2 separate regions of the Homo sapiens genome follow, and region 2 is linked to region 1. The links are contacts of gene promoters, found by promoter capture Hi-C in human tissues and cell types (Jung and others, 2019). All regions are on one chromosome and are shown on one strand. The core of a region is centred on a gene start or on the middle of the fragment in contact, and the rest is flanking DNA. Distances in the headings are between cores, read along the strand shown.

The links. Contacts are between HindIII fragments. The study calls those that stand out against the background at their distance.
Region 2: a contact is called between a fragment that was not itself captured here and the fragment with the promoter of ATG14 in region 1, in 2 of the 25 tissues and cell types used here (pancreas and thymus).

The regions. Positions count from the first base shown.
Region 1 is chr14:55,408,946-55,414,746 of GRCh38, reverse strand. ATG14 (autophagy related 14) reads left to right here and starts at 2,917. Exons shown (of 10, transcript NM_014924.5): 1 at 2,917-3,145. The coding sequence starts at 2,925. TBPL2 (TATA-box binding protein like 2) reads left to right here. Exons shown (of 7, transcript NM_199047.3): 7 at 292-537. The coding sequence ends at 368. It also overlaps a transcript of FBXO34 not described here and the pseudogene RPL21P6. RefSeq lists a silencer at 2,628-2,927. The HindIII fragment of the contact is 14,251 bases long and covers 1-5,801 here.
Region 2 is chr14:55,483,537-55,489,337 of GRCh38, reverse strand. No RefSeq gene overlaps it. Among named protein-coding and RNA genes, the nearest start is that of TBPL2, 46 kb to the right of the region's middle. The HindIII fragment of the contact is 3,824 bases long and covers 530-4,353 here.

The sequences.
Region 1 (5,801 bases), core at 1,668-4,167:
CCATATTCATGGCACATGTAGAGATAACATTCCACATTTCATACTGAGCACTGTGTGAGCAAAGATGACACCCACAGAGAAGTTCTAGAAAACTCTGCTCTAAGGTTTCTGTCTTGTGGAAATATGGCTGTAGTTGCCAAATTATTTACCCGGAATAAATGCCATTTCTCAGGTACAGCTAAAGAGATGTCATATTAAAAGTAATTGGAGACAATACAATGAAATTTTAGTGTTTAAGTAAATGTTGGTATTTTTATATTAAAAATTATATAAACCTGGATTTCTTTATAGGTGCCAAAGAACGTTCTGAGATCTATGAAGCATTTGAAAACATCTATCCTATTCTAAAAGGTTTTAAAAAAGCCTGAGCATATCATTCAGCATCTCACATTATTCTGGTTTGAATATGTCCATAAGCCCAGCACAGAAACAGCTGGATTCTTCTACGTTTAATTGTAGATGTTACAAGTACGTTACTTATTAAAGGGCGACTCTGTGTAAGTAACCTAAGAAACGAAGAAAAATTCTTATTCAAAATGACTCCTTTTGTGTTATTTTAAAAACTGAACAAGTAAACATTTCAAAATTTGAGAGATTTAGGGTCTCACTAGAATGATATTGTAGCATCATGAAGACTCAATGCGTTTCCTTTTAGCCGGAAGGGCCATCTTCCAGTAATTTGCCAAAATGACGAACACAAAGGGAAAGAGGTGAGGCACCTGATACATGTTCTCTAGGCCTTTTAGAAAAGATGGAGTTGTTCCTTTGGCCACATACATGCGAATCTACGAAAAAGGTGATATTGTAGACATCAAGGGAATGGCTGCTTTTCAAAAAGGAGTGCTCCGCAAATGTTACCACAGCAAAGCTGGAAGAGTCTACAGTGTTACCCAGCATGCTGTTGGCATTGTAAACAAGGGCAAGATTTTTGCCAAGAGAATGAATGTGCTTACTGAGCCAGGCTGGTCTTGAACTCCTGACCTCAGTTGATCCATCTGCCTGGGCCTTGGCACTCTAAGAGCCAAGTAAGTTTCCTGAAACGCGTGAAGGTAAATAATCAGAAAAAGACGTCAAAGGGAGAGGTGTCTGAGTTCAACTGAAGCGCCAGCCTGCTCCACCCAGACAAGCACTTAGAACCAATGGAGGGAGCCTGGGCTGCTGGAACCTATTCCCTATGAGTTCATGGCATAATAGGTGTCAAAAAAAATTCTGAACTGTACAAATGTTTCTCTTCATTGAGAAGTGTGGCGCCGCCCCCTCCCCTTAAAGAAATATTTAAACTACATTTTGTATCCAAAAACCTCAGTGCTCTGCTGTTAAGTAATACATTAATATGCGTTCTCTGAAAATATATAGCAACATATAGGAGTTTCAAATAACTGCATAAGCTAGATACTATCTGTGATATCATCTAGCACGATAGGAATTAATGTGTATTTTTTGCCTTTTAAAATATTGAACAGTTGATCCTGATCATTAGGTATTAAGCACTGTGAAGGATCCTGTCTGAATACAAATGAAACATAAGCCCGAGACCTTAAAAAATAATCCTTTTGTTTGAAATGATCAGAGAGAAAGACTTCTCACTTAAAAATAAATCTTAAACTTTCAGGAACCATTCAAGTTTAGTGTAAACTGTATTCTGAATATAGAGAATTTTTGCTTTTGCTTGTTTTTGTAATCCTACGTGATTTGTATTTAAAAAGACTGGGTAAGATTAAGAAGACGGAGGAGCAAAGGGCTCAGATTCAAGACCTAATTAGCTTGTAGAATCACCAGTTTTCGATGGTGATGTGGAGATTAACAGGGAGGGACGGGCTAATATGAATCATGGCTCTTGGCTGTAAATCATCAGTGATTACGTCCTTTACCAAAGTAAGAAAACAGGTTTGTAGGGAGGCAGAAGTCAGTTTCCAACACTTTGAGTTTGTGGTGTCCTGGAATGTCACCTGATACCTAGTAAGTAGTTCTGGATCTTTGGGTATGGAACTTGAGAAAGGAATCCTGGCTAGAGAGAGAATTCAGGGCAGTTTATCAGTAGATAGCCTAGTAAAATCATCCTTGAGAATCACTGGTCTATTTAATCTCACCTATAAACTCACTTTTCTCTGTAGTTTAGAGGCATATTCAAACACTAATTACTCTGATATGATCCTCCCAACACATCACCTTATATATCCCCTATCCACCAAAAGAAACTTGAAGGGAAGTCCTAACCATCTACCTAGTTCAAATTCTCTTAGAGCATGGCCCAGGGTAGGGAAGGTACGTTAGCCACGTGATTAACTTTTCAGAAGGATACAATTCTGATTTTGCACGTTCACTTTGGTTGTTTTCACTATTGGTAAAGTATAATACTATTAACCATATTAATCCTCACGGCATTAGATGGGTACTATAATTCTATCCATTTAACACGAGAGAACAGGCGCAGAGAGATTAAGGAACTTGCCCCAAGTCACACAGCTATTAAGCAGGTGAGTGAGCCAAAATTCAACCTAGTTCCAAGACCCAGCCCCTTCACCCTACTTTGTTTGCTGTAGTTTAGCCAGATTTTAAAGCATCCACAGCAAGTTAAATTCCCTTATTCCGCTCCCATTCCGTTTTCCCAGAATCCTTAGGGTATGGTATTACAATTTTCTGCACAAGTTTGAGGCTTTAACTCGTAGTCTTGGCCTGAGCCAGCAGATGACATTTTGTTTGGCCGACTAGCCCCTCTAATATAACTCTCCCCCTGCTTCGGGACCTGTTGCCCCTCAGCAGACCGGAAAAACAACAGTGCCCGGGACAGGAACACGCGGCGGCGGAGGGGTCCGGGGGCTCGCCGGCATCCCAGCCCCCCTTCCCCAGGCCCCTCCTCCTGGCCCAGAATGCACCCGGTTGAAAACAAAATCCCACGTGACTGGCTCTCCTCTCAGGCCATCATGGCGTCTCCCAGTGGGAAGGGAGCCCGGGCGCTGGAGGCTCCTGGCTGCGGGCCCCGGCCGCTCGCCCGGGACCTGGTGGACTCCGTGGACGATGCGGAGGGGCTGTACGTGGCTGTGGAGCGCTGCCCGCTGTGCAACACTACCCGCCGGCGGCTGACCTGCGCCAAATGCGTTCAGAGCGGCGATTTCGTCTACTTCGACGGCCGCGACCGGGAGAGGTACGGCGGCCGCCACGGCCCTATTGTTTCTTCTGCTGTGTGTCCTCCAGCCAGGCAGCCGAAGGCTGGAACCTGGGGCTCCCCGTCCGGGCACCAGATACCAGCGAGAGGAGCGAGAGAGAGGGAGTGTAGCTAGCTGCTCTGCACCGGAGCTTTGCTACCAGAGGACAGCGTAGGGGCCAGATGAGGGAAGGTCGCCGTTTCCCCATCACCCACCCAAGAGGAGTTTGACCCCACGGTGCTCTTGGTCACTGGGGAAAAAAGGAATAAGTGGTGACTCTCTGGAGAAGTTTTCCCGTTGCTGCCATTAAGTTAGATTCCCAGCTCTTTGCTGTATGTACTCCCATTCAAAAGCTTGGCTTTCTATTTTCGAAAGCATATTTATACTCATTCTCTAGAGGAGAGAGTAGAAGAGAATCAAATAACTGCTTTAGAGGGATTTGGGCCTGGTAGTCTGTCACAGATGGACTTTGTTATCAGACATGCTTACTCTAATGTGTGAATTGAGGCTTGCTGTTAACGCCCCTTTCCCCTCCCTGCCTCTAAAGATTATTTTAGATTCTTAGGAATTTGGGAACGTGTTTTGGCCTTGTTTTAAAATTCAGATTGGGAGCTGCATGCTTTTAGTTAAGAGAATTGCCTTTAGGAAAATGTTTTGGTTTCATTTCGAAATCTAAACAGCTACAAGTTCTTGGTTAAGAAAATTGAAAAATTAGTGTGATTAGCTGCAGGATCTCCCACTCTCAACTTATGTTTCAACAATTTAGTGTCAATGATAGTCAATGATAGTAAGATAGCTAGCATTCTGAGCACAAAAATTCAGGTATTAATTCATTCGCAACAACCGAATGACTTATCCCCAACTTATTAGGAAGCTGCACAGTAAGTGCTTTGCCCCAGGTCACACAAATAGTTAAGTGTTGGTACAAGAATTAAAATTCAGACAGCTTGGACCTATGTACCCGCACTTAACCACTAGACTTTATATCCTCTATATTTGGGAATGTTTTGAGTTCTTAGTATTTCTGTGATCGTGGATGGAGTTCTTTCCTTTCTCTTTTGAGGAGGTTTGAATGACAAACTCTTTTTTAGTTTTGTTGCTGTGTCTTATTGGTGCTCTTGATGACTTTAGAAACTGCTTATGTAGTAAGTGATAGCTTTAAAAATTAAACCAGTTATAAGAATACGGGGTATGAGATGGAAATGTCTAACTGATGGAGTGAATCGAGGATTTGGTTCTGGACCTTCTTGTCTGTCTACACGTTTTACTATGTCTATTCACATAATTTAAATACCATCTATATGCTTAAGACTGCCAGACTTGTATCTCCAACCTAGTCTTCTCTAAAGTCCAGAAAACAGCTGCTTATTCAACATCAATATTTTTAGATTTGTAATAGATATCTTCATTTTAATATGGCAAACTGAACTCCTTGTTTTCCATCATAAATCTGTTTTCCCATGCTCATCCCAACCCAGTAAATGTCAATCTCATTGTTCCTTTGGTTCAGGCTAAAAAACCTTTCAGTTCTCCTTGACTCCTCTCTTAACCCAACTCTGTTTAGTCCCATCAACAAATCCCATCTACTCTTCAAAACTTATCTTACAACAAATCCCATCTACTCTTCAAAACTTATCTTAAATCTTACCCTTTCACCATCACCTGGTCCAATCTACCAGAGACATAAACTTATTTCCTCTTATGTCTCTGCTTCCGTCCTTGCTCCCCTTTTGTACAATTTCCATATTGCAGCCACAGTTATGCTACTCCTCCATTTCTGTTCAAATCTTCCAGTGGTTTTTCACTTTACCCAAAGTAAAAGCTGGAGTCCTTAACCAAAGTTCTATATTATCTGTTCCTCTGATTTAATCTCCTATTATTTTCTCCCTTACCTAATCTGCTGTGCCACTGTGGCCTCCTTGTCTGTCCTCAAACATACCAAGAACACTCCTTCCTCAGGACCTTCGCAGTGGTATTTAGACAGCCAGGAACTCTTTCTCTCAGAAATCTTCAGGGCTGCCTCCTTTGTTTTTTTTTTTAGGTGCCTGCTCATACGTTAGACTCTTTCTGATCCTTCTATTAAAATGCTAACCTCATGCGTATTTAACCAGCTTTATTATCTTTTCTTTTCCATAACACTTACCACCATGTGATGGTTGTACATATTAATTTGTCTAACTGCCCCCACCCCAGTGATATAAACTCTATGAGGGCAAGAGTTTTTCTCTTTTATACACTGTTGTATTCTCACATAGTAGAAACTCAATAAAGATTTATGGAATGATTGAACTGACTCTGTCCCTCTTTCCCAAACTCAGTTTCTAGACCGTTTCAGTATTATTCATCATGATCCATTTGTTACTAAAGCCAGAAAACTGGGAGTTATCCTATACTTTTCTTTTTCTCTTCCTCTCTGCATCCAAAACTCAGCAAGTCTAATTCACTTTGATGTGAAAATATATCTTGAATCTATCCGAGTTTTAGTTCAGACCACCATCATTTCTCTCCTGACTACGTAGTGATCTCCCTTCTTTTAGTCAGACAACTCTTCCTTACCTTGCCTCTGGTCTCCAAACAGCAGCCACAATAGAAATGTAAATAAGATAATGTCACTGTTTTGCTTAAACCTTTCATTGGCTCCCATTGCATTTAAAA
Region 2 (5,801 bases), core at 1,192-3,691, 75 kb before region 1:
AGCAGTTTGGGAGGCTGAGGCAGGCAGATTATTTGAGGTCAGGAGTTCAAGACCAGCCTGGCCATTACGGTGAAATCCCATCTCTACTAAAAGTATAAAAATTAGCCGAGCATGGTGGCACACGCCTGTAATCCTACCTACTTGGGAGCTGAGGCACAAGAATCACTTGAACCCAGGAGGCAGAGGTTGCAGTGATTGCTCCGCTGCACTCCAGCCTGGGCAACAGAGCAAGGCTCTGTCTCAAAAAAATAAATAAATAAGTGAGATGTAAAAGCCTTAAGGCAAACTATTGTTGGAAAGCCCTCACAGCTACTCGATAGTTGGTCATCATTTTTGGTTGACCAACGAAAATGAAATCAAGCTCATGGCTGTGTCTATCATAATAAGTGAGGCAAGAATTTAGAACTCACTTTCCAAAATGAAGTCAAAAGCTTCTAAAGTAAAAAGGAAGTGTAAACCAAAAATTAAAGGCTATGACAGTAAACAAAGAATAAAATGGCTATACTTTCATGAATTACAAAAATAAACCAAAGGAAGTGGGATACAACGGTTTGTATACACTATTTAACACTAACCTTGCAACTGGAAGAATCAAGTTCCAGAGAGGAAACACACACCATGTGAAGCTTTTATCATCAAAGCCCAAAGCAGCCTCTTTATAGCAAGGTTTCTGAATACAAGGATCAAAGAGAGACTCCCAAAAGAAAGAAGGTTTTGGGGACTCCTTATATAATCGAAATGAGTACATCAGGGAAGACATTTTTTAAAAGAAGAAGATGACAGTGATGACCTACTGAGGAATATGAAATAATAAGAAAACTTTGACTCTCAATGCTCAAAGTACTTGCTATAGTGGAACTAAGAGAGAAAGAAAGAAAAATAAAAACACATGGCAACTAGGCAACACAAATCAGAATGCAGTAAGTCGTCACTGTGGCTATGCTCTGGTTTCTATATTTCTAGAACTTGTGGCTTAAATTTTATTAAAGCCCCTTGGATAAAGATCTTGACTTATAAACAATACATTTTCTGTTTCCTTCATAGCTGGGGGTTTGTGTGCTCTTTCGAATGCTTTGTAAGACGTCCAGGATTTACTGCCAAAAAAAGAGACTCTTTTAAAAAGGTAATTTACCTTTTCTTAAAGATTCAAATTTAGAAGCCCTATGCCTAATACTTTAACTGAGAAGACAGAATTGTATTCAGAATAAACCAATGATTTCGCTGGGAGAAATTGAGAATATGAAATACTAAGGCTGGAACAATAGTGGTTTAGAACAGTGCTTCTCAAACTATCTGTAGGAAGGAATGAATTTTGTTTTATTTTTTCCTAATCTGTTGCAGACTGACACTTTTAGTAGATACAATGAAAATAGATTACTATACTAGAAAAATCAAATTAAAAAACAAAGCAGGCCAGGTGCAGTGGCTCACGCCTGTAATCCCAGCACTTTGGGAGGCTGAGGCGGGCAGATCACCTGAAGTCAGGAGTTCAAGACAAGCCTGGCCAACATGGTGAAACTCCACCTCTACTAAAAATACAAAAAATAGCTGGGTGTGGTGGTGAGCGCCTGCAATCCCAGCTACTCGGGAGGCTGAGGCAGGAGAAGCACTTGAACCCAGGAGGCGGAGGTTGCAGAGAGCTGAGATCACGCCACTGCACTCCAGCCTGGGAGACGGAGCAAGAATCCGTCTCAAAAAAAAAAAAAAAAAAGCATACTAATCATGAGAAAAATACCAGACAAATCTCAATTGAAGGACATTCTACAAAATATTTGACCAGTCCTCCTCAAAACTGTCAGGGCCATCAGAAACAAAGACAGTCTGAAAAACTGCCACAGCCAAGAGTGGCCTAAGGAAACACGACAACTAAAGGTAACATAGTGTCCTGGATGGGATTCTGGAACAGAAATACGACGTTAGATAAAAACTAAGGAAATCCGAATAAAGTATGGGCTTCATTAATAATAATGTGTCAATATTTGTTCATTATGTGTAATAAATGTACCACACTAAAGTCAGATGTTAATAATAAGGGAAACGGGCTGTGGGGTGTTTAGAAACCCTCTGTACTACTTCATTGTTTTTCTGTAAGTCTTAAAGTGTTCTAAAATTAAAAGTTTATTTAAAATTAGGAAAAATAGGCTGGGCACGATGGCTCATGCCTGTAATCCCAACACTTTGGGAGGCCAAGATGGGCAGATCACCTGAGGTCAGGAGTTCAAGACCAGCTTGGTCAACATGGTGAAACCCCATCTCTACTAAAAATACAAAAATTAGATGGGTGCAGTAGTACATGCCTGTATAGCTACTCAAGAGGCTGAGGCAGGAGAATTGCTTGAACCTGGAAGGCGGAGGTTGCAGTGAGCTGAGATTGCACCATTGCACTCCAGCCTGGGCGACAGAGCAAGACTCCATCTCAGAATAAATAAATAAAATAAAATAAAAATAAAATTAGGAAAAAAATATATACAAAGTACAAGCCCCCCAATTTTTAATAATTCAATAGATGTAAAATTACTCTGTCACATCTCCAAATGCTACAAAAAATTTCTAAATTCTTCCTCTCCATCTCTGTGCTTGTCTCATGATAGGCTGGTAAGGAACAGTTGGGACTGACCCTAGCTCATGAACCACACTGTTGAGTATCTCTGGTCTAGACCAGTGCTTCCCAAATGCCACGATAAAGTTTTCCTTGGGTATACAGCCAATGAGAAAAGGTAGGACAATGAATTGAGTTTTTCACAAAGCAAATTAATTTGATGTAAAGGATCATCGTATATTCTGAGATTACCTCCTTTCCACATATTTAGGGTTATTTGTGTGTATGTGTGAATGTGTATGAAACAATGGAGAGAGTGCATGGTGGTAGTTTTTGTTTGGATGTCTTTGCCTACAAGTTATTGGAGAGAGGCTTAAACATTAATATATTTATCATTTCACCAAGAAGTCTGCACTTAGAAGGCTTCCAAGGTTGAGAAATTTAGGCGCTCAGTGTTTCTAACAAGTTTCTTTTTCTCTTTGCCCTGTGCAGCCCTCAGCATCTTGGCTTGTCCTCTTAACCTGACTTTCCTCATGGTCCCAAGATGGCTGCCACAGTTCCAGTTGTCCCATAAATACAACAATACCCAAAAACAGAAAGGCTGCCAGAGACTAATTTACCATGAAACTAAAGAAGCTTAAGCTTTAGAACCCTTCACTTACACAAGCTCCTTCCAAGACCCTAGCCTGGGGGGAGAAGGCAGATCCTACCAATACATTCATCTGGTCGTATATTTTTGTAAACTGTGAAAAAGCAGGACAATTTTAAACAATTTTTCTTAAAAAGGGCTCCAAAAGGCTAGGCGCGATGGCTCACACCTGTAATCCCAGCACTTTGGGAGGCCAAGGCGGGCGGATCACCTGAGGCCAAGAGTTCGATACCAGCCTGGCCAACATGGTGAAACCCTGTCTCTACTAAAAATACAAAAATTAGCTGGGCATGGTGGCAAGTGCCTGTAATCCTAGCAACTCAGGAGGCTGAGGCAGGAGAATCACTTGAACCCGGGAGGCGGAGGTTGCAGTGAGCCGAGATCATGCCACTGCACTCCAGCCTGGAAACAGAGCAAGACTCCGTCTCAAAAAAAAAAAAAATTAAAAAAAATAAATAAATAAAAAGAGGGGAGGGCTCCAAAATTGTACAAGAAGCCCTCACTTAATGTCATTGATAGGTTCTTGGAAACTGACTTGAAGCAAAATGATGTATAACAAAACTAATTTTTCCTAGGCTAACTGATATTTCTGGAACAAAAACATCACCGCAGGCTGGTGTGGTGGCTCATTTCTATAATCCCAACTTTGGGAGGCCTAAGCGGGCAGATCACCTGAGGTCAGGAGTTCGAGACCAGCCTGGCCAACAAGATGAAACCCTATCTCTACTAAAAATACAAAAATTAGCCAGGCTTGGTGGCGGACACCTGTAATCCCAGCTACTTGGGAGGGTGAGGCACAAGAATCGCTTGAACCCAGGAGGCAGAGGTTGCAGTGAGCCGAGATTGCACCACTGCACTCTAGCCTGGGCAACAGAGCAAGACTCTGTCTAAAAAAAAAAAAAAAAAAAAAATCACCAAACTTCTAAATGAAGACCCAAAACACTTCTAATGTTGGACATTGGAATAAATATGAGCTATACATACATTTAAGAAAAATTAATAAAAACAAGTAAGATCATTATTTACCCAAGTATTCCAGTTCAGGGTCACAGGTACATCACCAGAGTGGCTTTCTAGTGGTCTATTTCAGAGGAAAAAGTGATGAAACTTTTGTTCACATATATACCTAGAATACTGAACAAGCTGGACTCATGAGCCATAATCATGAAGCAATTTAATTTTGCCTTTCACTACCCCTTCAAATTCATTAGATGGGGCAAGTTCTTCTTCCTCTGAATGAAACCCAGGCAGTCTTACAACTTTTCTGATTGCTTTTAGGAACTAAAAATCCATACTTTGACTTGAAATACCCAAACAGACTTTAGTCAGAAGTAGAATATCTGGGCTCAGACACTCCCTGTTGTCCTACATACTAACCATGTCTGACCCCTTAGGCAAGGAGGGGAGTGGGTGGGAGGAAGAGACAAGGAAGACAGGGAACGTCCCCCTAATTGACCTAAGATGGCCTTGAAAACTTTGGTCTTGGCAAATGTTTAAAGCTGACCCTCGTTTGTGGGTAACTTTCATGGTTTCTTCAGAGACTTCCCAATCGGAGAACTTTTGCTTGCAGCTTCCTTGACCTGAGTAATCACACCTCAAATTTGTCTGGTCCCTTTATTCCTTCTATGGCCTTCCTGGAAACCTGGTGATAGCTTCAGAATTGCTCGGCTAGGTCCTGATCACCAGTCCAGGAAGCCCTATCATACAGTATCTGGGATAGGTACTCACACCTCCCTTTCCCTCTCTCTCTCACACGCCATACCACACACACACACACACACACACACACACACACACACACACACACACACACACACACCCTAGGCCTTGGGAAACATTCAGGCTGCCTTAGTCCCAGTAAACTTTGATTTGCGTGTCAGCAGATAGCCAGCCCCTCTCTCATCCTTTACATTTCTGAACAGAGCTCATTTCACCAGGCTTCAATGAGGTGCATCCATGCACCAGCTCTACTCTTTGAAGGAAATCCAAAGAGTTGGAGAATCCATGTTACAGCTCTCTCCAATTCTTCCTTTCATGACCCGTCTACATTCTTGGTGTGGGTGAAGGGCTTCAGACATATCCGACCCTGTGCTGTCCTCCACCATTTAAATTTACATTAATAAACAGTAAATAAAATTAAAACTTCACTCACACTAGCCATATTTCAAGTGCTCAATAGCCACATGTGACTAGTGGCTACTGCACTGGACAGTGTAGAAAAAAAGAACATTCACAGCACTGCAGAACAAGAATCTATTGATTCTTGAACACCTACTTTAAACTTTCTACATGAGGGTCTCAGAACTTTTGGCATCTGAAACTTATCATACTTTAAAGCTTCAAGCAAAACCTAATAAACTGTTAAACATTTTAAAATGTGACCGGTATTCATGTAATTAAATATGATGTCCCTATGAATCCCATTCCATGCATAATAATCATTACATCCTTGAAGTTGTAAATATGTTACAAGGACTACTTCAATCCGTTTGCTTTAGCTTACCTTTGGTTAATGTGATATATCAGAGAGTATGTTTTGTCTCAGAGAGTGTGTTTTCATACCATTTAAATGGTATTTGTGTGTATTGAGTACGCATATTTTGAAACTACTAT